5 separate regions of the Homo sapiens genome follow, and regions 2, 3, 4 and 5 are each linked to region 1. The links are contacts of gene promoters, found by promoter capture Hi-C in human tissues and cell types (Jung and others, 2019). All regions are on one chromosome and are shown on one strand. The core of a region is centred on a gene start or on the middle of the fragment in contact, and the rest is flanking DNA. Distances in the headings are between cores, read along the strand shown. Region 1 holds the start of PTGIR (prostaglandin I2 receptor). Region 2 overlaps PPP5C-AS1 (PPP5C antisense RNA 1). Region 3 has its middle 6.2 kb from the start of PNMA8C. Region 4 has its middle 15 kb from the start of SNAR-E. Region 5 has its middle 16 kb from the start of STRN4.

What was found. The method cuts DNA at HindIII sites, captures the fragments that hold promoters and counts their contacts. A contact is called where the count stands out against the background at its distance.
Region 2: a contact is called between a fragment that was not itself captured here and the fragment with the promoter of PTGIR in region 1, in 1 of the 25 tissues and cell types used here (psoas muscle).
Region 3: a contact is called between a fragment that was not itself captured here and the fragment with the promoter of PTGIR in region 1, in 1 of the 25 tissues and cell types used here (dorsolateral prefrontal cortex).
Region 4: a fragment that was not itself captured here is called in contact with the fragment with the promoter of PTGIR in region 1 in 2 of the 25 tissues and cell types used here (dorsolateral prefrontal cortex and lymphoblastoid cells).
Region 5: a fragment that was not itself captured here is called in contact with the fragment with the promoter of PTGIR in region 1 in 2 of the 25 tissues and cell types used here (dorsolateral prefrontal cortex and small bowel).

The regions. Positions count from the first base shown.
Region 1 is chr19:46,623,386-46,626,688 of GRCh38, reverse strand. It overlaps PTGIR (prostaglandin I2 receptor), which reads left to right and starts at 1,600. Exons shown (of 3, transcript NM_000960.4): 1 at 1,600-1,692; 2 at 2,452-3,231. The coding sequence starts at 2,464. RefSeq lists an enhancer at 885-1,385. The HindIII fragment of the contact is 28,599 bases long and covers 1-3,303 here.
Region 2 is chr19:46,399,168-46,402,470 of GRCh38, reverse strand. All of the region lies in intron 1 of PPP5C-AS1 (PPP5C antisense RNA 1), which reads left to right. Among named protein-coding and RNA genes, the nearest start is that of PPP5C-AS1, 3.4 kb to the left of the region's middle. The HindIII fragment of the contact is 5,392 bases long and covers 1-3,303 here.
Region 3 is chr19:46,421,037-46,424,339 of GRCh38, reverse strand. No RefSeq gene overlaps it. Among named protein-coding and RNA genes, the nearest start is that of PNMA8C, 6.2 kb to the left of the region's middle. RefSeq lists an enhancer at 831-880. The HindIII fragment of the contact is 8,713 bases long and covers 1-3,303 here.
Region 4 is chr19:46,814,546-46,817,848 of GRCh38, reverse strand. No RefSeq gene overlaps it. Among named protein-coding and RNA genes, the nearest start is that of SNAR-E, 15 kb to the left of the region's middle. The HindIII fragment of the contact is 5,866 bases long and covers 1-3,303 here.
Region 5 is chr19:46,761,200-46,764,502 of GRCh38, reverse strand. No RefSeq gene overlaps it. Among named protein-coding and RNA genes, the nearest start is that of STRN4, 16 kb to the right of the region's middle. RefSeq lists a silencer at 2,757-3,051. The HindIII fragment of the contact is 5,780 bases long and covers 1-3,303 here.

The DNA.
Region 1 (3,303 bases), core at 351-2,850:
TCCCTCTGGTCTGTCTGGGGACCTCACGGCATGAGGCGGGACAACGTGGCAGGACCTGGAGCCCACATGTACAGGCACCCCCAGAGCAGGGCTGGGGGGTCCCTTAGGGAGCCACGGTGGGGCTGGAACTTGGGCGTCCATCCTGCTGGAAGCTGCGGGTGCCAGCTGGGCAAGGGTGATAGGGAGATGGGGGGGAGGGGCAAAGGGGTTGTGGTCACACACCGGGGTACAGAGGGCAAGACGGCAGCTGCCCACAGTCCAGTCCTTGGGTTGGACACATCCCTCCTGGCCTTGGACAAGAGACACCCGCACAGCCTCTCTCCTTGTTACAAAGACCAATCTGGGATGTGCTGCAGGCCGAGGCTGGCCACCAGGTCCCTGAGGCCCGTGTTACCCCACGCACAGAGAAGGAGGCTGAAGTCTACCAGCTCCCTCTCCTCACCTGGGACCATCTCGCAGCAAGAAAAAAGGTGGTCAGATGGAAACAGGAAGCCAAGTCGAATGGATCTGAGACCGTCCCCCTGAGAAACAGCGGGGCTCAGAGAGGGTCTCTGAGGTTTTATCTGGCCCTTTTGGGCTGGGAGGCTGCCTGGGAAGCCACCGACTCCGTGGGAAGGGAGACCCGTGAACGCTGTGCGGGTAGCGGGAACATGTGGGTCTGTCACACTGGCCCGAGGCTGCAGCGGTGGTGGCTTGGCTGTGTTTGGGGAGGGTGGGGGACACATGGCAGCAATGTTGGAGCTGTGGACAGCTTCCTGTGATCAAAATATGATTCCTGAAGGTCAAGGTCACCAGAGCTTGGCCTGGGGCCTAGGGGTGCTGTGCGAGAAGTCGGACGGTGGCCCAGTGCTACCTTTCCATCATGGGCCATGGAAGTCTCCCAAGCCTGTCCCTGACAACTGGACACCAAATACACCCCTTCATGCTTTCTTCTCGGGTCTCTGCAGGGTGAGCTGGGTGCCCAGGGACAGGCTCGAGGGACTGGCATGTCTCTCTCTGGCCAAGCCTCCTTCCTCAGCTTTCTGGAAGGAGTGAATTGTGTCCAGGGACCAGAACTCTCAGTGGTGTCTGGAAAACACTACATCAGAGAGGAATTTCCTGGTCATTTCTCAATCCCTGGGCAATGTCCTCAGCCCCGGGGCCTGGAGCCCAGAATAGATCCCAGAGGCCACCCTGAGACAGCCCAGGCCAAGACCACCCCACTGAAGCCTGGTCAACTGTGCTCTTCAGGTCCCTCCTAGAGGCCCCCTACTACCCCGGGAGGCTCCAAGCCTAAGTGATGGTGACTCAGGAATTCCCCACCCAGGCCAGAGAGGGAGACACTGGGGGAGGGAGGAGACCTGTGTGTGGGGAGGTGGCAGGTGGCTCAGTGATGGGAACCAAGAGAGGATGTGGGGAGGAGAGTGGAGGCAGCGATGGGAGATGGATGTCCTGGATTGGGCGGGTGGACGGGGAGTGGGGAGTGTGCCAGGGGGCCCTCTGGAGAACAGTGAGGGAGGGCGGGGCAGAGAGAGGAAATGAAAAAGCTGGGGTGAGCAGGCAAGCTGAGGAGGGTGGGAAGGAGGGAGGGACGGAGGGAGGAGGGAAGGAGAAGCTGACACACAGACCGACACAGGCAGCGAGAGACACGAGGAGCAAAGCAAGTGAAGGCACAGACGCACGGGACAGGAGAGCCTGGGCAAGACTGGAGAGGTGCGGTGAGGGGCTGGGGATGCAGCAACACAGAGCAGGAGCAGGTAGAGGGTGTGGGGTTAGAGGGAGAAAGGTACGGGGAGGACAAGGACAAGGGAGGGGACAGAGACAGGGAGATATCAGCAAGAGACCGAGAGACAGGGAGGGAAAGAACTGGCAATGCCCGGATGTTCTCTGTCTCTTTAATGGCAGAAACAGAGCTAGAGAAGGAAAGAAACAGGAGGTGGTGGGGGGGTGGTGGGTGTCAGGCATGGTGGCTCACACCTGTAATCTCAGCACTTTGGGAAGCCAAGGTGGATGGATCACCTGAGGTCAGGAGTTCGAGACCAGCCTGACCAACATGGTGGAACCCCGTCTCTACTGAAAATACAAAAATTAGCTGGGCGTGGTAGTGGACGCCTGTAATCTCATCTACTCCAGAGGCTGGGGCAGGAGAATCGCTTGAACCCAGGAGGTGGAGGTTGCAGTGAGCCGAGATCATGCCATTGCTCTCCATCCTGGACAACAGAGTGAGACTCTGTCTCAAAAGAAACGAAAGAAAAGAAAGAGAGAAAGAGAAACAGGAAGGTGGGGAGAGACAGAGAGAGATACTGGAGAAGCCAGAGGGGAGAGGACTGCATACCCGCACACACAGGAGAACTGGGGGTTGGCTGGGAGGCCCCAGCTGCCAAAAGGACTGGCCAGCAGGGACATCTGAGTGGGCTGGGTGGTGGGGGTAGCCCTGGCTCCCTCTGACCCCCCACCTTGGGAACCCTCCAGCCCAGACCTGGGATGGCGGATTCGTGCAGGAACCTCACCTACGTGCGGGGCTCGGTGGGGCCGGCCACCAGCACCCTGATGTTCGTGGCCGGTGTGGTGGGCAACGGGCTGGCCCTGGGCATCCTGAGCGCACGGCGACCGGCGCGCCCCTCGGCCTTCGCGGTGCTGGTGACCGGACTGGCGGCCACCGACCTGCTGGGCACCAGCTTCCTGAGCCCGGCCGTGTTCGTGGCCTATGCGCGCAACAGCTCCCTGCTGGGCCTGGCCCGAGGCGGCCCCGCCCTGTGCGATGCCTTCGCCTTCGCCATGACCTTCTTCGGCCTGGCGTCCATGCTCATCCTCTTTGCCATGGCCGTGGAGCGCTGCCTGGCGCTGAGCCACCCCTACCTCTACGCGCAGCTGGACGGGCCCCGCTGCGCCCGCCTGGCGCTGCCAGCCATCTACGCCTTCTGCGTCCTCTTCTGCGCGCTGCCCCTGCTGGGCCTGGGCCAACACCAGCAGTACTGCCCCGGCAGCTGGTGCTTCCTCCGCATGCGCTGGGCCCAGCCGGGCGGCGCCGCCTTCTCGCTGGCCTACGCCGGCCTGGTGGCCCTGCTGGTGGCTGCCATCTTCCTCTGCAACGGCTCGGTCACCCTCAGCCTCTGCCGCATGTACCGCCAGCAGAAGCGCCACCAGGGCTCTCTGGGTCCACGGCCGCGCACCGGAGAGGACGAGGTGGACCACCTGATCCTGCTGGCCCTCATGACAGTGGTCATGGCCGTGTGCTCCCTGCCTCTCACGGTGAGTCCCCTCCGGAGCTGGGAGGAGTGGGGAGAGGAGGAGGGCAGCTCTGTGGGTTGTGCCCATGTCACA
Region 2 (3,303 bases), core at 538-3,037, 220 kb after region 1:
GGGGAGGTACCAGGGGCATACGGGGAAGGGAAGAATTGACAGCGGCTGTTTTTTGGAGACAATGAGCCACGTTGCGCCCCCTGGCGGCAGCTGGGAAAAGAGGTCCGGAGTCTAAGTTTGACTCGGGAATGGACACAACTTTTTCTTTCTTCTTTTCTTTTCTCTTTTCTTTTCCTTTGCTTTTATTTTCTTTTTTCTTATTCCTTCATTTCCTTCCTTTCCCTTCCTTCCTTCCTTCCTCCCTCCCTCCCTTCCTTCCTTCCTTCCTCCCTTCCTCCCTTCCTTTCTTGACGGAGTCTCGCTCTGTCGCCCAGGCTGGAGTGCAGTGGCACAATCTCAGCTCACTGCAACCTCCGCCTTCTGGTTTCAAGTGATTCTCCTACCTCAGCCTCCTGAGTAGCTGGGATTACAGGCTCCCGCCACCTCACCCAGCTAATTTTTTGTATTTTTAGTAGAGACGAGGTTTCACCATGTTGGCCAGGCTGGTCTCGAACTCCTGACCTCGTGATCTGCGTGCCTCGGCCTCCCAAAGTGCTGCGATTACAGGCGTGAGCCAACTTATTAGTATCTCTGTCCTCGGGATCCCACTTCAGAATCGCCCAGGACTCAGATGTGGAATGGACACTTTAGTGGCCTGCAGATGGCAGCAGGGGGGGTTCACTATTTGTAACACAAAAAGGGATTTAAATAGTGCCTGCAGGGTCCAGTCTCCCAATTTAAACTTTGGCATTTGTGGTTTCAAACTCACAGAATCTGAACGGTTGCCCCAAAAGACCGATGTCTTGATTCCAAATCAGCCTCTATCTGACAGGCCCAGCTGCCACCCGCTGCCACAAAAAAACAAGTTCAGGGGAACAGTTTGGTTTTTTGTTTGTTTGTTTTTGAGAAGGAGTCTCGCTTTGTCACCCAGGCTGGAGGGCAGTGAAGCGATCTCGGTTCACTGCAACCTTTGCCTCCCGGGCTCAAGCGATTCTTCTGCCCTCGGCCTCCCTAATGGCTGGGATTACAGGCTCCTGCCACCACACCTGGCTAATTTTTGTATTTTTAGTAGAGACGGGGTTTCACCATGTTGGCCTGGCTGGTCTTGAACTCCTGATCTCAAGTGATCCACCTGCCTTGGCCTCCCAAAGTGCTGGGATTACAGGGGTGAGCCACCGCCCCCAGCCTCACTCTTTACTACGGGCAGATTCGTCATAGCCTTGGGGGTTGAACTCTGTAATTCTCACAGCAGCCCAGGGATGCAGCTTCTATTATTATCATCCCCATTATATAGATGAGGAACCTGTGGCTTAAGGAATTGAGGGACCTCTCCAGGGTCACAAGGCATGGTGGAGACAGAGGCAGGGGCCTTAGCCAGGGCAGGACACAGAGGCAGAGGCCTCAAATGGCAGGATGAAGAAATGGAATGCCTTCCTATGAGAAGGAGGGAAGTAATGGAAGGGAAGGGAGAATAAGGGCCTATTTATCAATGAGGATAGGTCAGGCTTTACGTTTGCATCCAAGCTTCAGGGGAACCTTGAAGTCTTGGAGTTCTTTTTTCTTTTTTTTTTTTTTTTTTTGAGACGGAGTCTCGCTCTGTCACCAGGTTGGAGTGCAGTGGTGCAATCTCAGCTCACTGCAACCTCCAGCTCCCTGGTTCCAGTGATTCTCTTGCCTCAGCCTCCGAGTAGCTGAGATTACAGGCACGTGTCACCATGCCCGGCTAATTTTTGTATTTTTAGTAGAGACGGGGTTTCACCATATTGGCCAGGGTGGTCTTGATCTCCTGACCTCGTGATCCACCCACCTCGGCCTCCCAAAGTGCTGGGATTACAGGCGTGAGCCACTGCGCCTGGCTGGACGTTTTTACTTTAAGAAGTCCCTGAAGGATGCAGACTAGGGGGCTATTAGAAAGAACAGTTGCCCAGGCGCAGTGGCTCATGCCTATAATTCCAGCACTTTGGGAGGCTGAGGCAGGAGGATGGCTTGAGCTCAGGAGTGAGAAAAGACTGGGCAACATGGTGAAACCCTGTCTCTACAAAAAATTAGTCGGGCGTGGTGGCATGTGTTCCCAGCTATTCAGGAGGCTGAGGTGGGAGGAGATAGCTTGAGCCCAGGAGATGGAGGCTGCAGTTAGCTGAGATCGTGCTACTGCACTCCAACCCGAGTGACAGAGCAAGACCCTGTCTCAAAAAAAAAAAAAAAAAAAAAAAAGAAAAAAGAAAAAAAAGAAGGAAGGCAAGAGAAAGAAAGAAAGATCCTTACAGGCCTGCCTAGAAAAAAATGTCCAGATAATAATAAGGAAAAAAATGATAGAAATACATATGTAGAATGAGTCCATTTTGGTTAAATAAATAAATTTATAAAACTAACATTTATCGCCTGCTAAGACATGCCAGGGATTGTCTGAATGTTTTTGTTCGTTTGTTTTTGAGAGGGAGTCTCGCTCTGTCGCCCAGGCTGGAGTGCAGTGGCACGATCTCGGCTCACTGCAAGCTCCGCCTCCCGGGTTCACGCCATTCTCCTGCCTCAGCCTCCCGAGTAGCTGGGACTACAGGCGCCCGCCACCACGCCCGGCCTGTCTGAATGTTTTCTATGGGCTTTGTCACTAATCCCACAACTGTTAACTATTCCCGTTTTACAGGCGCAGAGGTCGCACAATGCCCAAGGATGGCAAAGTGAGGTGGCAAACCTAGGTCTTCTGACTCCAGAGCCCAGGCTCTCAACCCCTGTGCCCTGGTGCAGGTGGCTCTGGACTTGCTTGGTGCACCAGACCTTAGTAATTCAGTCATTTTTTCCATAGCGCCCCCAAAGAAATACCTAACAGTTCCATTCTCATCTGGTGAGGTCTAAACAACCTAAGCTCTTATGTCCTAAGAAGTTAGTAGCCATTTGAAAATATGTAGAGCTAAGGAGTTTGAGATCAGCCTGGGCAACATAGCGAGACCTTGTCTTTATTAACATAAAAAATGAAAATATATAGACACATAAATTGAAAGAAAACAATTTTTTTTTTACTTCATTCTTAACCGTATTTCCTTACTAAGGGGAACGTGTGTGCTTGTTAGGCACTGCACCAGTTCTCAAAACCCTGGGAACAGACTGAACACCGCCACCCTCAGTTCCTGGTTGGCATTGATTTTCTGGTGGGACTTGCCTTTTATCCCTGCAACCAATGAAAATGCAGGTTGGGGCCAGGCGCGGTGGCGCACGCCTGTAATCCCAGCTACTCGGGAGGGTGAGGCAGGAGAATTGCTTGAACCCGGGAGGCGGAGGTTGCAGTGAGCCGAGATCCCGCCACTGCACTCCAGCCTGGGCGACAGA
Region 3 (3,303 bases), core at 299-2,798, 200 kb after region 1:
TCGATCTCCTGACCTCGTAATCTGCCCGCCTCTGCCTCCCAAAGTGCTGGGATTACAGGTGTGAGCCACCGCGCCCGGCGGAAACACAGCTTTCTTTTATCCTACGGACTTCTCAGGATGTCAGGTCATTTTCCAGTGGCTGGTGTGAAAGGTGAAACAATTTAACTGAAACAAAAACAGTAACAGCTATCTTGTGTTCCAGGCACTATGCCACATTCCTTCATATCATTAACCCATCATATCCTGCCAACCCTGTGAGTTATGGCCCTATAGGTCCACAATCCCTTATAAAAACCCTCAGCCAGGTGTGGTTTCAGGGGTATATGTGGTTCAGAGTTTTGGATTTTAGAAAAATGATACAGTGACTATACCTTATATTGTAGAATTTACTTCCCAGGGGGATGCGGGAAGCCCTTATAATCCCATCAATACTTCTGTAGTGGGCTAGGTGCAGTGGGTCACGCCTGTAATCCCAGTACTTTGGGAGGCCAAGGTGGGAGAATTGCTTGAGGCCAGGAGTTCAAAACCAGCCTGGTCAACACAGCAAGACCCCTATCTCTACAAAAACTAAAAAAAAAAAAAAAAAAATTAGGCACGGTGGCATGCACCTGTAGTCCCAGCTACTCTGGAGGCTGAGGTGGAAGGATCGCTTGAGGCCAGCAGATCAAGGCTGCAGTGAACTGTGATTGCACCACTGCACTCCAGCCTGGATGACAGAGTGATACCCCCCTACATCTCAAAAAAAAAAAAAAGACCAGATAAGAGATTAGATTATCAAACTGTACTATTATTAAGATCATCATCTCATTCTATGGATGAAGAAAGTAAAGCTCAGAAAGGCTAAGTAACTTGTCTAAGGCTACAGAGCAAAGCACAACAGGAATTGAAAACAGGCCTCTGACCACATTCTGTGCTCCTCACACTGATTCGGGTCTCTCTCAGTCTGGGAGGCCCCAGCTGACATCGGAGTCATAGAGCATGATTTCTCTGGTAAACGGCTGGGCAGAAGAAATTCTTCAGGATTCCTTGAGAAACAAGCCAGAGGTGGGTGGCACTCTGAGGGCCTGTTTGAAACTGCAGTACACGCTCTGGTTCTAAGTGGGGGCTTAGAGCAGAGAATAATCTTCGTGCATATTGAATAATCATATCTACCAGGCACTATTCTAAGCATTTTACACAAACAATTTAATCCTCATAAGACTCAACACCATGAGACTGATACAATCTCATTCTCCAGATTTGGAAACTGAGGCACAGAGCCACACGATTTGTAAACAGAGCCAGGATGTGAACCGGAACTGAGTCTACAAACAGCTAGACCACACTGCTTTTTTTTTTTTTTTTTTTTTTGAGATGGAGTCTCGCTCTGTGGCCCAGGCTGGAGTGTTGTGGTGCGATCTTGGCTCACTGCAACCTCCGCCTCCTAGGTTCAAGTGATTCTCCTGCCTCAGCCTCCCAAGTAGCTGGGACTAAAGGCGCGTGCCACTACGCCCGGCTAATTTTTTGTATTTTTAGTAGAGTCAGGGTGTCACCATGTTAGCCAGGATGGTCTCGATCTCCTGACCTTGTGATCTGCCCGCCTTGGCCTCCCAAAGTGCTGGGATTACAGGCATGAGCCACCATGCCTGGCCCACTCTGCCTTTTCTAATAACTGTGAGCATTTACCATCCCTGGGTTCTGTGCCAATACCTATCATGGTCTCGTGAACTGCTCACAACCTCTCCATGAGGTTAAGTCTCATTACAACTGCCATTTTGCAGAGAAGGAAGCCAAGGCTCAGAGAGGTGAAGGAACTGACCCAAGATCACACAGCCACAGGGTGATAGAGCCAGAATTTGAACCCAGGCAGCCTAGCTCCAGAGCCCACGTGCTCCACCACATGGAGGGCTGGCACAGCACAAAGAGGAATGAGGTCTTGGTGGATCCAGGGAGACAGCACCCTGAGGCCTCCTCCCAACAGTCCTTGGTGAGAAACAGGGATTCTGAAGGCAGTCTCTGAGTCTCTGAGTGACCGACACATAACTTGTGATTCCGGCCAGGTGCAGTGGTTCACGCCTGTAATCCCAGCACTTTTGGAGGCTGAGGCAGGTGGATCACTTGAGGCTAGGAGTTTGAGACCAGCCTGGCCAACATGGTGAAACCCCGTCTCAACTAAAAATACAAAAATTAGCCGGGCGTGGTGTTGCGCACCTGTAATCCCAGCTACTCGGGAGGCTGAGGTGGGAGAATAGCATAAAGCTGGGAGGCAGAGGTTCCAGTGAGCCAAGATCATGCTACTGCACTCCAGCCTGGGCGACAGAGTAAGACTCCGTCTCAAAAAGGAAAAAAACATATATATACGTATATCCCAGCTGCATGTGCCCTCTGGTGCTGTGGGACCCCTGGCTGATGGGGCAGGAAGTTGGGGGGAACAGGGAAGGGGTGGGCATATGTGCCTAGGTGGGCACAGAGCACACAGCTCTTCACCTGCTGTTCCCTCTGACTTTCAGTCGCCCTTCAGGCTTTCTTTTTTTTTTTTTCTTTTTTATTTTTTGAGACGGAGTCTCACTCTGTTACCCAGGCTGGAGTGCAGTGGCGCGATCTCAGCTCACTGCAAGCTCCGCCTCCAGGGTTCACGCCATTCTCCTGCCTCAGTCTCCCTAGTAGCTGGGACTACAGGCGCCCGCCACCACGCCCAGCTAATTTTTTTTGTATTTTTAGTAGAGACGGGGTTTCACTGTGTTAGTCAGGATGGTCTCGATCTCCTGACCTCGTGATCCGCCTGTCTCGGCCTCCCAAAGTGCTGGGATTACAGGCGTGAGCCACGGCGCCCGGCAGCAGCTTTATTTCTAAGAACCAAAAACTAGAAACAACTCGATGGCCGACGACAGGTGAATGAATAAACAAACTGCAATGTATTCATGCAACAGAATATGACCTAGCAACAAAAAAGAATGTACTGGCCGGGCGCGGTCGCCCTCCCAGCACCTTGGGAGGCTGAGGCGGGCAGATCATGAGGTCAAGAGATCGAGACCATCCTGGCCAACATGGTGAAACCCTGTCTCTACTAAAAAGACAAAAACTAGCTGGGCGTGGTGGCGGGTGCCTGTAGTCCCAGCTACTCGGGAGGCTGAGGCAGAAGAATTGCTTGAACCGGGGAGGCGGAGGTTGTGGTGAGCCAAGATTGTGCCACAGCACTCCTCCTGTCACAGTTTGGTGACAGAGTAAGACTCCGTCTCAAAAAAAAAAAAAAAAAAAAGGAATGAACCTCAGATGCGTACAGCAACATCGGTGAACCTCAGAAGCGTTATGCGGAGTCAAAGA
Region 4 (3,303 bases), core at 563-3,062, 190 kb before region 1:
ATATTTTTAGTAGAGATGGGGTTTCGCCATGATGGCCAGGCTAGTCTCGAACTCCTGGCCTCAAGTGATCCGCCCGCCTCAGCCTCTCAGAGTGCCTTATACTCTTTCTTTCTTTCTTTTTTTTTTTTTTTGAGACGGAATCTCACTCTTGTAGCCCAGGCTGGAGTGCAATGGCGTGATCTCGGCTCACTGCAACCTCCACCTTCCAGGTTCAAGCAATTCTCCTGCCTCAGCCTCCTGAGTTGCTGAGATTACAGGTGCCTGCCACCACACCTGGCTAATATTTTGTAATTTTTTTTTTTGTAGAGACAGGGCTTCACCATGTTAGCCAGGATGGTCTCGATCTCCTGACCTCGTGATCCGCCCGCCTCGGCCTCCCAAAGTACTTGGATTACAGGTGTGAGCCACCGCGCCTGGCTGCCATATACTCTTTCTCAAGACCTCTTCTCTTGAGCCTAGGGATGGTTCCCCTCTTGCTTACTCAACGACAACAATCCAGCCACTTTCCTCTCTTGCTTCTCTTCTGGAATCTAGAAATCCAGATCATTCCCATCAGCACATGAACCAGCTGTTTGATCTTCTCTGCTCTTCTGACCTTTCTATCAAAAGAATTGACTTTTAGCTGGGCATGGTGGCTCATACCCATAATCTCAGCACTTTGGGAGGCTGAGGTGGGAGGATCACTTGAGCTCAGCAGTTCGAGGCTGGATTGAGCTACAACGGTGCCTCCACTCCAGCCTGGGTGACATAGTGAGATCCTGTTTCTACAAAACATTTTTTTCTATTTTGAGACAGAGTCTCGTGATGTCACCCAGGCTGGAGTGCAGTGGCGTGATCTTGGCTCACTGCAGCCTCCGCCTCCTGGGTTAAAGCGATTCTTCTGCCTCAACCTCCCTAGTAGCTGAGACTCCAGGTGCCTGCCACCACACCCGGCTAATTATTGTATTTTTAGTAGAGATGGAGTTTCACCATGTTGGCCATGCTGGTCTTGAACTCCTGACCTCAGGTGATCCGTCCGCCTCAGCGTCCCAAAGTGCTGGGATTACAGGCTTGAGCCACCATACCCAGCCTACAAAACATTTTTAAAAATAATAAACCAGGCATGGTAGCACACGCCTGTAGTGAGCCATGATGTCACCACAGCACTCCAGTCTGGGTGACAGAGTGAGACCCTGTCTCAAAAAAAAAAAAAAAAAAAAAATTAACCCTGTACCTGGCCGTAATGAATCAACAATTGGAAGCTGTGTTATTATAAAGACGGGTGAACATATGGGCCCCTTTGCTGGTCCCCATCTGGCCTGGCTCTCCTGTTCTCCACCCTGCACACTCATGCCTGGGAACCTGCGTCTCCTCTCAGCCTCCCCAACGGCGGCCCAACCCACATGGCGTTTGATCTGCCCACTTCAGAGCCTTCACCTCCGGCCTGCAGCCCATCAGAGGCGGCTGGATCCCGGCCTCCTCCCCACATGGGCCTTTGAGGATGGGATGAAAGAGGCTAGGCTGAAACCAGTGTGAATGGCCAAACGGGGAACTCAGGAATCCCTGGTGCTACGCCCAGGAACAGAGGTGCGCGGCGGGGAGGCAGAGCAAGGGATGCTTCTTGGGGCTTGCTGGCAGTGCCAGAATGACCTGGGCATTTACCGACCACCTCCTGTGTGCTCAGGCCTGTGCTAGGTGATGCTGAGGACATAGTGGTGACTGGCCTGGCCGTCAGAGGGCTCACAGGCCAGCGGAGCAGATAGGCCAGTGCCCCAAGAGCAACAACCTAGTGGGAACAGGGCTGGGATGGGAAAACCTAGTTGATGCAGTCAAGAAGGGCTTCCTGGAAGAGGAGGTTCTTAAGTTCTTCACAGAGTCTATGATGCCCATCTCAACCTACCTCTTCAGCCACATCTGATGACACTTCCCCACAATCCCTTGAATCCAGCCACCCTGTTCCTTCTAATTCTTTTCATTTTTGTTTATTTATTTATTTTGAGACAGAATCTCGCTCTGTCGCCCAGGCTGGAGTGCAGTGGCGTGATCTCGGCTCACTACAACCTCCACCTCCTGGGTTCAAGCAATTCTTTTGCCTCAGCCTCCCAAGTAGTTGGGATTACAGGCGCCCGCCAACATGCCCAGCTAATTTTTGTATTTTTAGTAGAGACGGGGTTCCACTATGTTGGCCAGGCTGGTCTTGAACTCCCGACCTCAGATGATCCACCCGCCTTGGCCTCCCAAAGTGCTGGGATTACAGGTGTGAGCCATGGCCCCTGGTCTCCATCTGATTCCTGACCACTTCAAGTTCATTCTCACGTCTGGTTCATTGCACTTGCTATTTCTTTTGCCAGCTTCTCTCTTCTCAGTCCCTCATCAGGCAGGTTCCTTATCCTCACTCAGATTGCAGACGAATTCTTCTTGCAGCACTGAGCTCTTTCAAAAAATTGTCTTGGCCAGGTGCAGTGGCTCATGCCTGTAATCTCAGCACTGTGGGAGGCTGAAGCAGGAGGATCCCTTGAGCCCAGGAGTTTAAGACCAGTCTGGGCAACATAGTGAGACCTCATCTCTACAAAAAAATCAAAAAAATTAGCTGGGCATGGTGGTGCACGCCTGTAGTCCCAGCTACTCAGGAGGCTGAGTTGAGAGGATTGTTTGAGCCCAGGAGTTCAAGGCTGCAGTGAGCTATGATCACACTGCTGCACTCCAGCCTGGGTGATGGGGTGAGACTCTGTCTCTAAAAATAAATTTTAAAATAGTTCTCTTATGTCAAGTGCTGGGGCTCACACCTGTAAACACTAGGATTTTGGGAGGCTGAGGTGGGAGGATCACTTGAGCCCAGGAATTTGAGTCCAGCCTGAGGAAAATAGCGAGACCTCATCTCCAAAAACAAATAGGCCAGGTACGGTGGCTTAAGCCTGTAATCCTAGCAGTTTGGGAGGCCGAGGTGGGCAGATCACCTGAGGTCAGGAGTTCGAGACCAGCCTGGCCAACATGGTGAAATCCTGTCTCTACTAAAAACAGAAAAAACTAGCCGGGTGTGGTGGTGCACACCTGCAATCCCAACTACTCAGGGGACTGAGGCAGGAGAATCACTTGAAACTGGGAGGTGGAGGTTGCAGTGAGCTGAGATTGTGCCACTGCACTCTAGCTTGGGCGACAGAGTGAGACTCTGTTTCAAAAATAAATAAATAAATAAATAAGAAAGATAAGCTTTTGGCTGGGCACTGTGTCTCATGTCTGTAATCCCAGACTTTGGGTGGCTGAGGCAGGAGGATCACTTGAGGCCAGGAGTTCGAGACCAGCCTCGCCAACACAGGGAAACCC
Region 5 (3,303 bases), core at 340-2,839, 140 kb before region 1:
TGAGGCCAGGAGTTCAAGACCAGCCTGGCCAACATGGTGAAACTCCATCTCCACTAAAAATACAAAAATTAACCAGGTGTGGTTGTGCACACCTGTAATCCCAGCTACTCAGGTGGCTGAGGCATGAGAATCACTTGAATCCAGAAGGTAGAGGTTGCAGTGAGCCAAGACTGCACCACTGCACTCTAGCCTGGGCAACAGAGCAAGGCTGGCTCCAAAAAAATTGTTTCATATGATAAATTGCACCCGTTAAAATCAATTAGGCCAGGCTCATGCCTGTAATTCCAGCACTTTGAGAGGCCGAGGCAGAAGGATCGCTTGAGCCCAGGAGTTTGAGACCAGCCTGAGCAATGCTGCGAGACCCTGTCTCAAAATAAATAAATAAATAAATAAAATACAGTTAAATGAGTTTTGACAGATGAATATACTGTGAAAAACCACTCCCATAATCAAGATACATGATATTCTCATCATCCCCAAATTTCCTCATGCTTCTTTGCAGTCTGCCCCTCTCTCCAGCTCCAGGCCCCGGTAACCACTGATCTGCTTTTGGTCACTATGAATTAGTTTTACCTCTTCTAGAATTTTACATTGGTGGAATCATATACTATGTAGCGTCTTGCATCTGGCTTTTTTTTATGTGTCATAATGCTTTTGGGATTTATTCTTATTTTTGCATGTATCAGTAGTTTGTTCTTTCTTTTCTTTTCTTTTTTTTTTTTTGAGATGGAGTTTCACTCTTGTTGCCCAGACTGGAGTGCAATGGCACAATCTCGGCTCACTACAACCTCCGCCTCCCGAGTTCAAGTGATTCTCCTGCCTTGGCCTCCCAAGTGGCTGGGATTACAGGCATGTGCCACCATGCCCAGCTAATTTTGTATTTTTAGTAGAGACAGGGTTTTGCCATGTTGGTCAGGCTGGTCTTGAACTCCCGACCTCAGGTGATCGGCCCGCCTCGACCTCCCAAAGTGCTGGGATTACAGGCGTGAGCCACCACGTCCGGCCCAGTTCTTTCCTTTTTTAAAAAACTTGCTAAGGAGTATTATGTTGTCTGAGTGTACCACAGTTTGCTTATCCACCCACCTGTTGATTTACATCTGATGGTTTCCAGGTTGGGGCTATTGTGCATAAAGGTGCATTTGTAGACAGGTTTTTTATTTTTTATTTACCTTATTTTATTTTTGAGACAGAATCTTGCTCTGTTGCCCAGGCTGGAGTGCAGTGGTGCAATCTCGGCTCACTGCAACCTCCACCTCCCAGGTTCAAGCAATTCTCCTGCCTCAGCTTCCTGAGTAGCTGGGATTACAGGCACCCACCATCACGCCCGGCTAATTTTTGTATTTTTAGTAGGGATGGGGTTTCACCATGTTGTTCAGGCTGGTCTTGAACTCCTGACCTCAAGTAATCCGCCCTCTTCGGCCTCCCAAAGTGCTGGGATTACAGGTGTGAGCCGCCACACCTGGCTAATTTTTGTATTTTTAGTAGAGACGTGGTTTCACCATGTTGACTGGGCTGGTCTCAAACTCCTGACCTCAAGTGATCTGCCCGCCTCAGCCTCCCAAAGTGCTGGGATTACAGGCATGAGCCACTCGCCCCTCCTAAATTTTTTTGGTAGAGACAGGGTCTCAACATATTACCCTGGGTGGCCTCCACCTCCTGGGCTCATGTGATCCTCCAGCCTTGGTCTTCCAAAGCGTTGGGATTACAGGCATTAGCCACCACACCTGGCTAATGTAGACAGGTCTTTACATGCCACTATTGTTCATAGCAAATATTTTGTAACATGTAGGGCTGATAGACAAAATATTTACTGCTTGGCAAAGTCATCAGTCCATCCAACATCCGGGATATGGGTCCCTCTTATCTCCCACTATACCCAGTTTAACCCCTGGACTTCTGGGCCAGAGGGCAGCCCAGGGGATCCCCAGGGAGAGCTAGGAGGATACTAATAGTCAGGGGGTTCATGGCAGTGACCGTTTATGAATGAGTAAATAATCCATAATTTAGTGTTTTGCTGTCTTAACCACTGGCGTGGCCATACCAGGGCGTGTGCTGGCTTGAATGTCAGTTCTGGGAAAGTTCTCTCTGTTCTCCTGAAATGAAGTTCATAGACAGTATAACCCACTGGCACATGATTTAACATGATTTAAGAAAATCCTACTTTGGGAGGCCAAGGTGGGCAGATCACTCGAGTCCAGGAATTTGAGACCAGCCTGAGCAACATGGTGAAACCCCATCTCTACTTAAAATACACACACACACACACACACACACACACACACACGTATTTTTAGTAGAGATGGGGTTTCACCATGTTGGCCAGGCTGGTCTCGAACTCCTGACCTCAAGTAATCCATCCGCCTTGGCCTCCCAAACTGCTGGCATTACAGGCGTGCGACACCGCACCTAGCTAATTTTTGTATTTTTAGTAGAGACATTATATATATAAATATATTTATATATATATATATATAAAAGCTGGGTGTGGTAGTACTTATCTGTAGTCCCAGCTACTCGGGAGGCTGAGGTGGGAGAATCGCCTGAGCCTGGGAAGTTGAGGCTGCAGTGAGCCAAGACTGTGCCACTGCACTGCAGCCTGGGTGACAGAGTGAGACCCTGTCTCAGAAACAACAACAACAGCAGCAGCAACAAAAACGATCCTTGATTGCCCTAAATGTAATAAAAAGGAGAAATAAGAACATAGTAACTTACAATAAGCATTTCATTATGCGGATGTGTGGAGCCAGTCCCCTAGAACCCAAGGAGGTAGGCAGATGTTTATGCCTGTAATATAGACAGTTCCAACACATTGAAAACACGTGGACTGGTGTCCAATTACCAAGAGCCATGTGCAATGTGAGTTTTTTCACATGGTGGACAACCTTTGGCCAAGTTTTGAACAAAACACGATACAAGCTTCCCTCATTTTTTGTGGTAGTTGCACTTCCTGGAAGATTCCGAGGCTATTTAAAAACAAAAAGGACTTTGTACGTACAAGAGAGAGATTTTTGGCCAGGGTTTTCACCTCCAAGTAAGGCTAAAATTTAGTTGGTCTGAACTAGTATGGAAATACTGTTCTTTCTTGTTTGTTTTTGAGACAGAGTCTCGCTCTGTCACCCAGGCTGGAGTGCAGTGGCATGATCTTGGCTCACTGCAACCTCCGCCTCCTGGGTTCAAGCGATTCTCCTGCCTCAGCCTCCTGAGTAGCTGGGACTACAGGCGCCCACCACCATGCCCGGCTAGTTTTTGTATTTTTAGTAGAGACAGGGTTTCACCATATTGGCCAGGCTGGTCTTGAACTCC